Regions from separate parts of the Homo sapiens genome. Here region 1 is linked to region 2. The links are contacts of gene promoters, found by promoter capture Hi-C in blood cells and fetal thymus (Javierre and others, 2016). All regions are on one chromosome and are shown on one strand. The core of a region is centred on a gene start or on the middle of the fragment in contact, and the rest is flanking DNA. Distances in the headings are between cores, read along the strand shown. Region 1 has its middle 4.8 kb from the start of ACKR1. Region 2 holds the start of CADM3 (cell adhesion molecule 3).

Region 1 (5,009 bases), core at 1,276-3,775, 38 kb after region 2:
CACCTGAACTGCGCACACCTGTGCGTGTGCACTGACTTTTCTCAGGACCCAAACCCCCACTCAATTCTGCACTCATCCCTGTTCACAGGATATAGAATCGGGATTTATGACTCACTCCTTACCCAAATGAGTTTTCTTTACCCTGGTTTTTAAGCCTAGTCTTTTCTGTGTAGGATGTGTGGAGGGAAGAAAAGATCAAGAAGTTGTGAAGGGTGGAGAAACTTGAAGGGGGAGGCCCTGATTTGATTCATCTTCTGCTTGGAATTCCCCGAATTTCCCTTTCAGAATCTCAGCTTTTGAAATAAACCTTTATTTCCCACATACATCTTTCCTTCCACCTTCCACACAATACCCCAATCCCCTGGGCACCTTTTTCCCAACCCCTGATTCTCTGGCTGCTTAATCATGACCTTTGAGATTTTTCTCAGTCTCTACCTACCCAAGTTTAGATGGCTGGAAGGACAGAAACCCCTCCTCATCAGGGGCACAGCTTTTACCACCAAGAGCAAATTCACCCTCTACCCAAGAGGCTACAAAACAGTTAGTTCCTACCTCTAACCCAACTAAAGGCTGGGGAAACTTGAGCAGATACGTTCTATCAGTTTGAACCCAATTACCATCTTACCATTTTCCAAAGATATGCTATACCTGGTTTCTTTACTAAAATGTTTCTGCTTGACTCTCTGGGCTTGGGAATAGTAGGCGAGTGCGGGAGAGGTGCAGAGATGAGTTAGAATAGCTTAGGCAGGAGGGTGCAAAAGGCTTAGGGAATTTTCCTGGGTGGGTGCCACGACAAGGCCTCTAAATCTCCCACCTCCTGTCTCTTAGCAACCACCAGGTTAGCTCCTGATTGGTTCGTCCTCAATTGAAAGGCGGGATTTAGGGACCGATTGAGACGCGGGAGACATTCTGAAACAGAAAGGAAGGGAGAGAAAATGAAGAGAAAGGAAATAATTTACAAACCTAAATTATGCTCTGGTTTCCAACCACAGTTCATGAATGTGTTCTAGTATTTTTTCCCCCGCTTTTTTTTTTCCAGGCTTCTCTCAATATCCCCCTCCCGTCCTTGACCACTCTTGCAATTCTACCAGATGTTGCTGTCCTCCCTTACAAGGTACTGATTTGGAAGCTGACCTAGTTGAGGGGGAGGAGAGGGCGTTTTTGACTCCCTGAATCTTCCAGTGTCAACCTGATGCAAGGGAGGCTTAATTTAAGACCAGTAGGCTTGTCTTATCTGCCCCCAACCCTGTGCCTCTGGATAGAAATCCCTGGTCAGTCAGTCCAGTTAGAGAGAACCCCAGACTCCTGGGTAATAGCTTGGCAGCTCTCATGGCTTTCACAAGGGAAAGGCAGCTGCAGAAGCCCGAAGCTGCTAAGAGGTTAGGGTGGGCTGGAGACAGTGCCCTACCCCCGCCCCCTGCTACATCCTCCTCATCCCCACCCCCACCGGGATTGCTCCAGGCCTTTTGGGCTGCCCTTTCCCTGCCATTACCTAGGCAGCACTTGGAGAGCTCCTCCTTAAGTCTAACCCGGACCTCAGTCATTTCTTTAAAGCTTTCTTGGGGACCTGCCACCCCATGCATTTAACCCACTGCATGCCATCAACCACTCTAAAATTGGTCTGAGTCTGGCATCTTTTCTGCAACCCTTCAGGAATACAAATCCTGTCTCCTTAAAGCCCTTAAGAATTTAATCTTAGGGTTGGCAGGGACTTTAGCTGTGTATGAGATATTGGGCATCCTAGCTAAAGAAAAAAATCCTCTCAGAAAGATGAGAGCCAGGGAAGCAAGCTCTTGGGAAAACACAGGACCCTGAGGAAGGTCAGTTTGCTTTGCTTTCTAAAGGAGAGAGATCTATTATTCAAGGGAAGTTTGAACATCACATTGACGCTCATAGTTCATTTATTCCAAGCTGAGGCCCCTCCCTTAGGATTTAGAAAACAAATACTTGGTCCTCACACCCTTTTTCCATTCCTATTTCCCTATCCCCCAACCCCATCACCACCTTCCTCCCTCAGAGGAATTCTGATTGAGAACTTCACTGGGATTTCAAACCCAATTCATCGCCAACTCTAATTGCCAGAGATTTGCATGAAAACCATCGTATGCTATCTAATTATTCTGACAACAGCAGCCCGCCGTCTGGGCACAAGGAGAATCGGAGTTTTAATTAACAATAATGCACCTTGCTGACGAATGCGACTGTTTAGGTTAATTAACAAGTCCAAGTCCTTCCAAATCATCTCTAGACATCTAGGTGATTTGGGCAGGAAGGGTGTGGGGAACACAGGGAGGGATGGGGAGTGTTTAAGCATCATTTCTGCAAAAATGCACGTTAGCTTTCTTCTTTCCTGTAACTATTTGGTGAAGGGAAGAGAAACTCTCTAAGAGACTGGCTCTGGAAAATTGGTTGGGGGATTTTGAGAACATCTTCTTTTTTTTTTTTTTTTTTTGAGACAGAGTCTCACTCTGTTGCCCAGGCTGGAGTGTAGTGGTGCAATCTTGGCTCACTGCAACCTCCGCCTCCCAGGTTCAAGTGATTCTCCTGCCTCAGCCTCCTGAGTAGCTGGGATTACAGGTGTGCACCACCACGCCAGGCTAATTTTTTGTATTTTTAGTAGAGACGGGGGGGTCTCACCAGTTTGGCCAGCCTGGTCTCGAACTCTGACTTCAGGTGATCCACCTGCCTCAGCCTCCCAAAGTGCTGGGATCACAGGCGTGAGCCACCGCGCCCGGCGGGAACATCATTTTAAGGGGATGTATCAGACATCTTTATGTTGCACTTAGATTTAGGAAATCTTTTGGATACATTTTTATAAATGAGAAGATTAAGTTCTTATAGCTCTCTAGTATCTCAAAATCATTGCCTGATTGTTTGCAAACTTGGTTTCTAGCATGAAAGTCTCAACTTCCCCATCAATGCCATTTGTCCTCAGCTTTCTCTATATGTTCCTACCACATCTGTGGTCATTTAAAGTTGCCTACTGCTTGTGAACCCGGGAGGTGGAGCTTGCAGTAAGCCGAGATCGCGCCACTGCACTCCAGCCTGAGCGACAGAGTGAGACTCCATCTCAAAAAAAAAAAAAAAAAAAGTTGCCTACTGCCTTTGGTTTCCCAGATAACGTGTCAAGTTTCACCCTTGCCCTCTTCAAAGATAACTGTATTTTTTTTTCCTGGGTAGTTCTCCGTATCATGCAAAAATACATTGTATGTAGCTCCAAACTGTACCTTTCATCTTTCTAGTCTTTCTAAGAGCATGGACCTAGTCTTTTTCCTCTAAATAGGGTATTGCTAATGTTTACGGGATAGGAGGAGGGTTATAGGCCTCTTAGAAAATCCAGTGATAGTAATAAACTTACTCTTTACAAAAATCCAATATTATACCCTAAATTTGGCATCTAGTTCTTCGCTACTGCATTTAAGTTAATCCTGAGTGTTTCTGTACCCTCTGACAGCACTTCCACGATTAGCTGGTGGCCTTGTCTCCCCACAGCTCAAGAAGCTTTATGCTCACGGGTGAATTTTGTTCTTTGAAGGAGCAAATCTGTTTTCCACTCTAAGAGTCTTTGCACTTGATATCTCTTCTGCCCCAAAAGCTCCTTCCTGTGCTCTTTATATGACCAACAACTTCTCGTCCTTGGGGTCTCTGTGCAAATATCACCTCCCTCAAGAGTGACCTTCCCTGACATCCAGTGGAATGTAGCCTGGCCATGCCACACCCAATTATTCTCTACCAGTTCACCTCGGATGTTTCCACTGTAGCATTTATCACATGTTAAAATTTTATTTATTCGTTTATTTGCTTATCAGTTTACTGCTCGTCTACCTCCTCCCTCCAACACTAGAAAAGAAACTTCAACCATGCAAGAGTCCTTTCGCTGACTGGCACATGATCAGAGCTCAGGAAACATCTACTAAATACCCAAGTTAATTTCATGAATAAAGATTCATTGGCCACACTGGAACATTCACAGTCCAGAGAGGGAAGAGGAACAAGTAAGCAAATAATTGATGCAGAAAACTGACCTCTTCTCCCTAAGTCCTCCAGAGCCTCTCCCATGTCATTCCAGTGTCTGGGGGCTGAAGAGGCTGGAGAATCTTCTGTAGATTTCCGGCCTGTGAACCTGTTTTTTTGTGTCAATTCATGGCTGACTGGAGCTGAGGACTTCACCACAGTTCCTGAACCACGCATTAAAGAAACAATGCTTCCTTTCCTTTGGGATACTGCCGGGTTTTTGGCCAGCAGGGGAAAACTGGGAAAGGTTGTCATTTTTCATCTTTGCTTGAGGAAAAGTGAGTCACTGAGACTCCCCCAGAGTTCTGGGAGACAAAGTCCTTCACTGGCTCGGAATCAAATTCATAGTCCAGCCACCTCCTCAGATTGCATCATTCTCAGGGAGAGCCCACTACCCCCCTTGGACCGAAAAGTCACCATGCTGATTTTTTTTTTCTTCGGTCTTCTCTCCTTCCTTTTAGTTTCAACTTAGCTCCCCTTCCAACCCTACCCCTTCCCCACCTGTGAACGCTGGTTCCTACTCTCACCTTCTGGCCTCTGTCGCCCCCCTGTGGCAATTGATGTCTCTGCAGTTTTGGGAACAGGATCGCCCTTTAAGGCACTTAGGGGTGTATAATTAATTTCATTTAAAGAATTTGTTGAGTATCCACTACATTCAAGATGCTAGTGAAAGTACTGGAATACTTGGAAATGAATCATACACAATTATTGGCATCAGAATCTCTCTGGGCCCACCTGGTCCCCCATCCCCTTCCTTCCTTCCTTCCTTCCTCGTTTCTCAAAATTTCCCAGTCCTCTCCCAAACAACCTTGAACAAATTTGGATCCCAGAACACATAGAAGATCCACAAATCCCTCAGTCACCTAGACTTCTCAGAGCAAACTTCTATTTCACAGTCAAAGGTCCGTAGCAAATCGCACAGCCTCTAGTCAGTGAGTGTTCCTGTCTCAGTGTCATGTTCAGAAGTGTTCCTTACATGCAGACACACAGAAGAT
Region 2 (4,825 bases), core at 1,843-4,342:
TTCATGATGGGGTTCATCCTTGTAGGTCAATCTTTCTTTGTAAAACTATATTCCTAGTGAGTACGGTGGGCACCTGTAGGATGCTGGGTGCACATGTAAAAAGGGCATTAGAATGACTACAGGCAAGAAGTTATTCCAAATGCTAACATCCACATCAGTAGGAGAAACTACCCTTTCACTCTGAAATATGCAAGGGTGAGGAATTCCTCAAATTGGACACCGCTCCAGAGTTTTGGGAATGATTCCTCTTATCCTTCCTGCCTCCAAGGGTACTATCTCCCATTCCCCACCCAGTGGTGGCAACCCTTCTACCAGCTAGCCGTATGAACACAGAAAGTCATTTAGCTTCTCTGAGTTTCATTTTCCTCATCTGTTCAACAAGCGGTATTAATTAGATAATCTTGAAGGTCCCATACAACTCTAACATTCTTTTATTCTATAATTCTAAAAGCCAGTGACTGTTTCCTATTCCCAGGACTTAAACTGTTGCCAAACTGATGCTGATGATGCAGAAAGGAGAAGAGGAGCCAGTAGGAAAAGAGCATTCCAGAGTCTCATTTGCTAACTCTTAATACTCTCTCCAAAACAGCTTTCCTCCTTACCTCTCACCCTTGGTTCTTGTCCCATGCAGTTACAGTAGAGAGTAGGGCCAGACCAGCAAGTATTTCAGAATTAAGGGGGTCAGGCAGAAGGGGATCACTGCAGAGCAGCAGATGGAAAAGACAGATTAATTAGAAGACTATGAGACCTAATCCTACATCCTGCCCTCCCTATCCCACCCATCCCCACTCTCACTCCCCTACCCCTGCATTAACCTGTTCTCTCTTAAGCCCACTTAGATGATCTCTAAGATGTCTTCTAGCTGCAAAGATAATACTCTTTATCCACTAAGACGCTTTAACTAGGGTAGTCTGATCTTTCTCTTCTGAAGCTGATTTGTTTTGAAAACACCCACATTACTGCCTGCTCTCTGCATAACTAACTTCATGCCAACATGGCCCCACCTCTGTGGGAAAGTTCAATCTTTCCTATATCTCTCCCCCACTCCCTAGCCCAGCCTCTTCTCTCTCTTACATCCAGGTTTCCACACCCCTCAAATATAGTACCCCCTTTATTTTCACTTTTTGGAGATTCCAAGATATCAACAAACCCTAGGAGACAGAATGGTCTGGAGTCACTGAGATATATCAAGTCAGGCAAGTCAGACAGCCAAAGATGGTCAACACTTCCCTGCAAGAAAATCTTAACTATCCAGGCACTCAAGAAATGTCCAAGAGGCAGGCAGAACTCTTCTCCCAGAAACCATCAACTCTAACAACCCTAAGAGAAAAACTGTGGGGCAGCATCCTGACAATCCAGAAGGATTTCCCTGGGGAATATTTCCCCTGACCTCTCCATCATTGCTTGTAATTTATATAGGACTTTACTGGTAACCAAGTACTTTCCACACCCCTGCCCGTGAGTTTCTGGGTGACAGAGACATTAACTACATCACAGAGGGCTGAAAAACTCTGTTTTCAAGAAGGAAAGATTACCCAAACATTAAGGATTAGCCCAGTGAGACAGTCATTAGCAGACAAAGAGAGCTGGTCTAAGAGTTAGAAGACATGCACCCAAATCCCTCATCTAGGGATAAAATATTAGCCTCACAGGATTGGAAGACACTTTAAAATCATATTGTTGCACATCCCAGCCAACACTTGTGTCTTCTACTATTAACTGTCAGTGTAACCTTGGTTCAGTTAGCCTCCTTTGAGCCTCAGTTGTACCTATATAATTAAGGGGTTGGAATAGACATTTTCTAAGAATTCTTAGATATCTAATATCATTTTATTCTAGAATTCTAACATTTAGAAATGTATTTCCAAAAGCTAAGTTTCAGTAAAACTGATTTAGAAAGATCCCTTTCTGAGATATATCAAGACTCGGAGATACTCAGTCACAAAGAATGGCAAACACCAGGGACTTGGGACACTTAAGCCAAGACCAAGTACAAACACCCTGCATCTCTCATCTTGTTATATCTGGCCTCAGGATTGACAGCAGCTTTGGTCACAGACGCAGGGGTCCTTGGAGGGTTTCTAGATCAGACTCTTCATCCATGAACCTTACTAACTCAAACTTGAGATGGGCGAGATCTGCAAAAGAACAAGAAAGAAGAAAACGTATTGGAGAAAGGGACCGGGGGTTAAAGAGATGTAATAGGGAGGGTTAAGAAAGAAAACGACTGAGTTGCTTTGTTAGGCTGCCAGATTGGGCAAGAGTCTGGGGTGAAATCATGTTTTCAGAGGGTGAGTTATTTCCTTGACATGAGATTGAGGGAGACATTGGTTCCCAAGGCCTGGGAGTTTGTTGGAAAATGCCTTTCAAGGGAGATTGCCTGGGGCCACGAATTGTTGCTGGACAGATAACTATGGGCTCTTGGGTAAGAGGAATCAGGGATGTTAGGGTTTAGGAAAATGATGAGAGTTAGCAATTATCCACTGGACAGGTGTCCCTGGGTACACTGTTGATAGGGGGACCCCAGGGCTTAAGGCCAGGGGCCACAAATTGTTGCTGGACAGATAACTATGGGCTCTTGGGTAAGAGGAATTAGGGATGTTAGCGTTTAGGAGAAGGCTGAGAGTTAGTAGTTATCCACTGGAGAGATGTCCCTGGGTACATGGTTGGTGGGGGACCCCAGGGCTTAAGGGGATCCCCAGTTGCCAAAGGATGGAGGGCGGAGCTGGAGGACCTCAGGCTAGTGAGCACGCCCTTGCCCAGGCCTGCAGTGGCTGCACTCGCCAGCTGGCCCATGGCCCTGTCCGACTCCCCTCCCTCCACCCCAAGCCTAAGAGGGGTGAGCGCAGGGTCCCACTGCTGAGCCAGCTCCCTCCCTCTGATCCACACCCGAGCCCGGCTGGCCGAGCTCCCGGGGGAGAGGGTGGAAGGCACCACGAAGGCAAGGAGGGGGTGTGGGAGGCGGGGGGTGTGGGGAATGCGGCAGCCTGGCCCCCCCGCGACCAGCCCAGCCCCCCGCCAAACCCCCTCCACCTCCAACCAAATGGTTTGCTCCGAGCGCCCTATTTAATCCCCGCGACTGCAGCAGCGCCGGCTCCCTCCCGGTCCCCACCTCGGCCCCGGGCTCCGAAGCGGCTCGGGGGCGCCCTTTCGGTCAACATCGTAGTCCACCCCCTCCCCATCCCCAGCCCCCGGGGATTCAGGCTCGCCAGCGCCCAGCCAGGGAGCCGGCCGGGAAGCGCGATGGGGGCCCCAGCCGCCTCGCTCCTGCTCCTGCTCCTGCTGTTCGCCTGCTGCTGGGCGCCCGGCGGGGCCAACCTCTCCCAGGACGGTGAGTGAGGGAGGGGGCGGCGCCTGGGGAGGTGGGGAGTGACCCGAGGCGGGGGCTGGGATCGGGAGTCTCGCGGAAGGAGCCTGTTGGCTTTGTTTGGAACCGGGGTTAAAGTCACCAGCCGCTGCTAATACCCTTGTGTCTGTCTCTGAGCATCCGTGTCTCTGTGGACTGTGGGTGTGCCGGTGTGTGCACCCTTCTGTGTACACCACTGAGCGTGTGTCTGCGTGTGCACCGGGGTTTGGCTCTCGGGGCTGATGTCCGTTAGGAGCAGCCCGGGGTCTGGATGTGTTGCTGTCCGTGTGCGCGCGCGTCTGTGTTGGTGTCTGGCTCTGCGTTTCTGTGTCAGTATCTGTGTGTATGTCTGTGTCAGTGTGTGTTGGGGGCGGAGTGAGATTTGTCGCTGTTTCAGTCAGGGCGTGTGTCGGGTGTTTGTGTATGTATGTCTGTAGGGGTTGGGTAGCCAGTGCAATCCCCCAAACTGCTGTATGCAAACATTTCTGCTCCCCCGCCCGTCCCCCACCACCCGCGGCGCAGCTCCGAGTGGGCAGAGAAGGGGGCCTGGGTGAGGCTGCTGAAGGGGGCGTGGGCAAAGAAGAGGGCCCTTATCCTTGGAGCAAAACAACAACACAGGGCGGAGGGGGCCCAGGATGGCAATATCCCTGGCAGTGGTAGAAGCTGGGAAAAGAAATCCGACAGGAGCAGAGGCGGGGTGGGGGTAGGGGGGAGCGCAAAAGAAAGAATCAAGATATTTGGGGAGGAGGATGCATGAGAAACCCAAAGCTTTCCTGGGCTAAGCACTGATTTTCCCAAATTTGGGATGGGGTAGCATACCTAGCCCCTTTGCCCCAGTCTGGAACTCAAACCTTCGCTGGTTCCTAATGGTAGAGAGATGAAGGAAGGGAGTCGGGGGAGAAAGGAGGCGGGGCCAGGGGTGAGGGGACTTGGGGAAGAGCCCCTCCCGCCCTGGGCCGGGCTATGTAGGTCAGCGCTGTGGGGGCACCTCAGCTTTCTTAAAGGCTACTAACGGTTAGTGGGATGCCAGAGGGGCAGCCTGTAGGGAAACCCGGAAGGGGTCCACAGCTCCGAGCCTCAGGTCCCTGAGGAGGGAGGGCAGGCTGTGAAGAGACTGAAGGAATGCATCCTCCTCCCCCCACCGCCCTGTCGGAAGAGGAGGAGGGCTGGGATGGAGGAAGGGGGAGAGGGAACAGGACCTCTGTGGAGCAAAGGGAAGTGGGGAGAGTGAAGGGGGAGGGTGGTGGCTATGCCCGGCCAGATGCCAACGAAAAACAGAAAGAACCGCAGGGGAGGAGAAAGGGGAGGTGGCTCCTGGGCGATGGACCCAGTGGCCAGCAGGGATGGGCACAGGGCGGGGCGGGGGTGGAGAGGGGAGGGGTTGAAACTGGGAAGGATGATGTAGAGAATTTCATCTGAGGAAAACAGGCGAAGAGCCAGGGTGCTGGAGGAATAATCGCTCCACCTCGCCTGACCTCC

The links. Contacts are between HindIII fragments. The CHiCAGO score rates a contact against its expected background, and 5 or more counts as called.
Region 1: a fragment that was not itself captured here is called in contact with the fragment with the promoter of CADM3 in region 2 in 1 of 17 cell types (megakaryocytes); the score reaches 6.2 in megakaryocytes.

The regions. Positions count from the first base shown.
Region 1 is chr1:159,207,162-159,212,170 of GRCh38, forward strand. No RefSeq gene overlaps it. Among named protein-coding and RNA genes, the nearest start is that of ACKR1, 4.8 kb to the left of the region's middle. The HindIII fragment of the contact is 1,947 bases long and covers 1,553-3,499 here.
Region 2 is chr1:159,168,523-159,173,347 of GRCh38, forward strand. It overlaps CADM3 (cell adhesion molecule 3), which reads left to right and starts at 3,093. Exons shown (of 9, transcript NM_001127173.3): 1 at 3,093-3,331. The coding sequence starts at 3,244. RefSeq lists an enhancer at 2,230-2,730. The HindIII fragment of the contact is 6,448 bases long and covers 1-4,112 here.